Linked DNA regions of Homo sapiens: region 1 is linked to region 2. Evidence: promoter capture Hi-C in 16 types of primary human blood cells and fetal thymus (Javierre and others, 2016). All regions are on one chromosome and are shown on one strand. Each heading gives the region's core, a stretch centred on a gene start or on the middle of the fragment in contact. The rest is flanking DNA. Distances are from core to core; before and after follow the strand shown.

Region 1 (2,877 bases), core at 159-2,658, 750 kb after region 2:
TTGTAGAGCCGGGGTTTCGCCGTGTTGTCTGGTCTCGAACTCCTCAGCTCAAGGATCCGCCCCGCGGCCTCCCAAAGTGCTGGGATTACAGGCGTGAGCCACCGCCCCGGGCCTCACATTTTATTTCTATTGGCTAGCGCTGCTCTAAATCTTCTGTTCCTTCTGCTACACCAGGCCTAACACTCAAAATCCCTGCCAACCTTTTCCTTCCTGAAGCTTCCCTCCCCTTCCTCAGCTCTGGCGACCCTGCGCTGTGGTGGTTCTCCAACCACACTCATTCTCCTCAGCTGGCTCCTTGCTCTTCTTCCACCCCCTCGTTGCAAGTGTTCCTAAGTGTTTGCCTTGGCCTCCTCTTCCCCTTCCTTAGCTTAGACTTCTCCACTGCTCCAACATCAACTGGAAATCTATGGAATTGATTCCTGTTTTCAGCTCCAGTCCTGTTCACAGGGCATTTTCACCTGCTGGCACTTCCAAAGTGACACTTCCAAACCACTTCCTCGCCCTCCTCTCTAAACCAGGTCTTTCTTCCTAACTTCCTTATTTCTGAGAATGTCTCTGCCATGTTCTAAACTGAAAACCTCCTAGTCAACTTCACACTTTATTCCCTGATCCTCAATTGGTTCCCATGTCCCGTTAGTGTTTCTTGTAAGCCTCTGCCACCACCGCAGATCGAACTCTAATCACATCTCACCTGAATTATGGAAAAGTCACCTCAATTCTCTCACCCATCCCAGCCTCCACTATGGATTAATATGCCTAAAGCAGAGCTGACCACAACGGTGAGAAGAATCTGAGAGGGAAGCAGCAGCAAACACAAGAGTCACTGGACATGCATGCCTCGAGACAGTCCCGACCAAGGAGAAAGCATCAGACCCCGTCTTCCGCCTCGAACAAGAGGCGTGCGGACTTCGCCCAGAATGCTCGTCGCCCCTGGACAAGGACACACCCGGGGCGTGAGGCGCGGAGTTTCACCAGTTGCTCAAGCAGACCCAGCCCAAGACGCTTCCTCTTTCTCCTACTCCACTCCAGTTCAGACGGCTACTAATCCCGGCCCAAGGCACCTGCGCCCTGAGACGTCTTCGAGCAAACAGCATTTCCGGACCAAGGCTCCCCGGAATCTCTCTCCACCCGGCCGCGCCCGAAGCCCGAGAAACGGGCCGCCCCTCCTGGTTTCCCACACGGGGTTCCCCAGCCCCAACCGGCCGCGCCCCGCCCCTCATCTTTTAGGACACCGGCTTCGCGGCCCGGGCGGCCACAAAGGGCCGGGCCCTGCCCGCGGCCGCCCATGTCCGCGGTGCCTTCCTGGCTTGCCCGGACTCCCCATCACGCACATACGCTTCCCCGCCGCCCCGCTGCCGCCGCGGCTCGTAGCTCAGGTTCCTTCCAGACCAGCCGCTGTTTTGTTTCCGATGTGAAACCGCGGACCCCGGAGCTGCCTGTCCCAGGCCCCGCCCGAGAACCCTCACCGTTGTCGTCATTTCCGGCTCTGGCGTCGTTGGCGGCCGGCCCACGGAGGAGGGGAGGAGCCAGGAGGAAGGGGGCGGGGCCTCCGGCCTGGAGAAACGATTGCGGGGAGAACCCAGAGCTCCACCTGGCCTTCCCCACCTGACGGAATCCGCCCAGAGCGCTGGCGTGGGTTGTCGGGGTTCTGAGGCTGCTCGAGCTGAGGACGAAAGCCCCTATATAAATTGGGCCCAGCGTGTGCTTCTCCCGGCATACAAGCGATGGCCATCCTAAATTTAACACCTGTCATTTCTTTAGGGTACCTATTTGCGAACCAGCTGCATCACAATCAAGAGAATGCTGTTAAAATCGCAAATATCTCTGCCCTCTCCCACCACTCAATGAATCAAAACTTCTGGTGGGTGGCGAGAACCTGAGAAACTGCATTTTAAACATCCTCCGCGATTCTTGGACTCCAACTTTGACAACCAGTCTTTCTAGGTGGCAAGCTAGCTGAGAGCAGAAAATGTGTCTGGTTTGCTGGGTCACTTGATTTTTGCATCTGCCTGCTCTTTGTCCAGTTTTGGTAAAGACAGTACCAATGTCTAATTCATTAGACAGCATACCACACTTACACATATATCCAAAAGCTAAAACTAAAAAATGAATACTACCTTATTTAATCAAGGTGAACGGAGAAATGTCAAACATGGGTATTCAAAAAACCGAAAATGAAATTAACGGTACATGGTATCTGGGCAAGTTACATTCTTCTAAAGTTTCTTTAAAAATCCACCCCCAAGCGGCCGGGTGCAGTCGCTCACGCCTGTAATTCCGGCACTTTGGGAGGCCGAAGCAGGCGGATCATGAGGTTGGGAGTTCTAGACCAGCCTAACCAACATGGTGAAACCCCGTCTCTACTAAAAATACAAAAAAATTAGCCGGGTGTGGTGGCGCGCTCCTGTAATCCCAGCTACTCGGGAGGCTGCAGCAGGAGAATCGCTTGAACCCGTGAGCTGAGATCACACCACTGCACTCCAGCCTGGGAGACAGAGCAAGACTCCATCTCAAAAAATAAAAATTAAAATTAAAAAATAAAATCCACCCCAAGCTATCCCTTCACATTCCTATCGCATCAATCTCCAATCCCTCCTCCCAACCCACTGCCAACCTTGTTCAAAAACATGAGATTCTAATACTTTTTACACACAAAAGCTTCATATTTAAGAACAAAAGTAATATTTTCCATTAGCAGAATGAAAGATAAGTTGTGGGAGAAGGTTGAACGAAAAAAGATGTTTTTAAAATTCTTCACCTCCCCCACTTTAACAAGAGTAGGGATTTTAGTTTGTTCATTTACAAGTGCTCATGCTTGTCAGCAGCACATATACATTTTACAAGTGCTGAGAACAGTGCCTGATACATAACAGTGCC
Region 2 (3,105 bases), core at 457-2,956:
GAGTTGTACAAGCAGAACCACGATCAATTTTACAATATTTCATCACCTCACAAGGAAACCCTGTGCCCATTAACGGTCACTTCCCACTTCTAATGTGTTTACTATGAGCTTAAAGGGCTTCCATACAAGCTTCCCAGTAAGCAACTGGTAGGTACTAAATATTTGTATAATGAATGAATGACACTACAAATGATACCTACATTTTTCTCTAGTCATCTCTTCTGAACTCCAAACCTTCATTTCTAACTGCTTGCTAGGTATCTCCACATGTATATCCAACAGCATCTCAAACCTAACAATGTCCAAAATCCAGATTATTATCTTCCTTACCAAACCTGTTCTTCTTGTATTACCTATTTCAATGATCGCCCAATCTTCCTCCCACTCAGCTGCAAATTCTAGGTCTTTAAATCTCTCTCATTCTCCATTTTTAAATAATTCCCGTGATTCTCTGTTCCCAGAATGTTCTCTGTTCCCTACTGTAATGCCCTGTTTAGGTCTCTCAGTAACTTTCTACTATACTATTAAAACAGGCCTCTAACTGGTCACCCCGCGTTTAAAATTCCTCTTTCCAATACATCCTTTATGCAGCCATTCAAGTTATCTTTCCAAAACAAAGAAATGCTTATGTCACTTCTACTCAAAGTTCAGTGCCTCGGAAAAATTGTCATAGCCCTAAAGGTAAACCCCTTCGTTTACAGAAAAACTCCCCAGAGCTAGAGATTCAGCAACTTGCCAAAAATTAGACATCTACTTAGATGCAAAACGTAAAAAACTAGAACTTAAAACTTCTGACTGCTACTTTAGTTGTCTTTTACTCTGCACCACACTAAGAAAAAACCAAGTGCAATTTCTCACTCCCTAACAAAATGCCCGACTTTATTTCCAAATGTTTTTTATTTATTGCAAATATGCTGCGTTGACCTTCGTTCCAACCTAAGTACTAATTCTTAAGTCCCAAGTTAATAATATTTAACTTCCAAATGGTGCCTAAATGCATTTCTGAGCCTCATGATCAAGTGGGATAAACTTTAATAAATTGGATTATCTTGAGAAACTTCAGAAAATAAATTCGACACGAAATGTATGAAGGCCGTAAACAATCCACACACTCCTGCCCCCCGAACTGACAGGCAAAGGAGAAACGGGCGACCCAGCCCAGCCGAGTAGGCAGCTGTCCCTTTTCCAAACCCAGAAAGTAAGTGGTATGAAAGGAGAGGGTAGCTCTGGACTGAAACATTCAGGGCAAGGCCTCCTGGCATCCTCTACCCCACACCACAAAGGCCTCAGAAATAAGGCCCCAAGGTCCGTAGGCAGGCCCCGGCTGCGGGTGCAGTCCAAGAGCCCCCGCCCCGGGGACTCGCTGACTCTGGCTTTCTCAGGACAGTCTGTTCCTATATCCCTACCCCCAAAACCAAGCAAAGGAGCAAGAACATCGCCCCTAAAAACCCGCGAGGGGAAGGGCCAAAGCCGCAGGGCTTCAGACTGGCCGCTCCCGGGCCCGCCAGATCCAGGAGGGATGCCCAAGGAGGGCGGTTTCCTCTCTCGGGGCGAACTCGGCCCCAGGCCCCAAGTAGCCGGTACTGGCCCCCGCCCTCTCGGGTACTACCTAACCGAGGAGGGGTGGCCAGGCCCACCTCGGAGCTCACCTTCCAGTTCCGGGAAGCCGGCCGGCCGTCAGTCGGTCCCGAATTCCGTCCACACACAGCGTCTTCCGGCTCCCGCCGGAAGCAGCTCGAGCGCGGGACAGGAAGTTTGGCTGACCCCCCACGCACACACCCACTCGCTCGCCTCAGTGTCGTGTGGCTGCCGCACTGCTCGGGACCCAGACGTCAAGGGTGCTGGCGGGGCCTCCCCAGGCCCGCGACGCAGGGCTCCGCCCCGGACAGGAGGAGCCGCAGCCGCCCCGCTCCCACTCACTCACTCACTCTCGGCCTTCGGGACTCCTATGTCCGCGAAGCCCGAAAAAACAGGTCAGCTAATTCGTTGACGTCACTGCCACCCCGCAGTAGCGGAGGGAGTAGTTTTTCCCATCAGCGGAGGCGTTGCAATGGAGGCAAACGCGAAAGAAAAGATCACTGCTTAAACATTTATCAAAGGTCTCCATGGAGAGGACCTTCGAAGTTTCACCGCCCGAGAAAGGAACTTGCAGAATCAAGTTTTGCATTATATACGGGACGGGGTATGCAGTGAGTCTGGGTTCCGTGTTGTAATTAGGATGTAAAGAGCTCTTGGATGTCCCGACTGCGGGCTTGAACACTTGACTTCCAAGCTGGATGCCACCTTGTTAAAGCTTTGTGAGTTTGACTGACTTCTTGAAATTACTTATTTTAAAATATTTGCGTGCGGAAGAATGAGAGACTCAACCGTGGGAATTAAAGGAGTTCTCTTTAAAAAGGCATTTTCAAGGTTAAAGATAAGCCTTGATGACAGGTTTGGGTACACAAATTACTAATGGTGATTTAAAATAAAGGAGAAACATTTCAGAGGAAGATAATTCCACTTTAGAAAAGCAGAGTAGGCCGGACTCCGTGGCTCACGCCTTTAATCCCAGCACTTTGGGAGGCTAAGGTGGGCGGATCACGAGGTCAGGAGATCGAGACCATCCTGGGTAACGCCGTGAAAACCCGTCTCTACTAAAAACACAAAAATTAGCCGGGCGTGGTGGCACGCGCCTGTAATCCTAGCTACTCGGGAGGCTGAGGCAGGAGAATCGCTTGAACCCGGGAGGCGGAGGTTGCAGTGAGCCGAGATCGTGCCGCTGCACGCCGGGCGACTGAGCAAGACTCCATCTCAAAAAAGAAAAGAAAAGAAAAAAGCAGAGTATAAGATGCAATCCAGAGTTGAGGATATTTACTTGGAGGTAAAGGTCCAGTGCTCAAGAAAGAGGTCAGAAATACAGATGGAGATTTGGGAGTTAGCAACATACAGAGAAAAGTGAAACCCCCTCAGGCGATGAAATGGTCCAGGAAAAGTAACAAAAAAGGGCCACTCACGAAAACTGGGGAGGCTGATTACCAACACAGTTTGAATCTACTTATTACAAATGTTGCATACAAAAGTATATTGGCAGTGTGTAGACAATCATAAGCCAAAACATTCAGA

Evidence for each region. Contacts are between HindIII fragments. The CHiCAGO score rates a contact against its expected background, and 5 or more counts as called.
Region 1: a contact is called between the fragment with the promoter of PSEN1 here and the fragment with the promoter of ZNF410 in region 2, in 8 of 17 cell types (monocytes, total B cells, fetal thymus and 5 more). The highest score is 10.1, in monocytes.

The regions. Positions count from the first base shown.
Region 1 is chr14:73,135,038-73,137,914 of GRCh38, reverse strand. PSEN1 (presenilin 1) reads right to left here and starts at 1,408. Exons shown (of 12, transcript NM_000021.4): 1 at 1,332-1,408. RefSeq lists an enhancer at 949-1,058 and silencers at 1,229-1,288, 1,549-1,628. The HindIII fragment of the contact is 2,442 bases long and covers 219-2,660 here.
Region 2 is chr14:73,885,460-73,888,564 of GRCh38, reverse strand. ZNF410 (zinc finger protein 410) reads right to left here and starts at 1,706. Exons shown (of 12, transcript NM_021188.3): 1 at 1,650-1,706. It overlaps PTGR2 (prostaglandin reductase 2), which reads right to left. Exons shown (of 10, transcript NM_001146154.2): 10 at 2,839-3,105. RefSeq lists an enhancer at 1,647-1,716 and a silencer at 1,767-2,046. The HindIII fragment of the contact is 2,164 bases long and covers 132-2,295 here.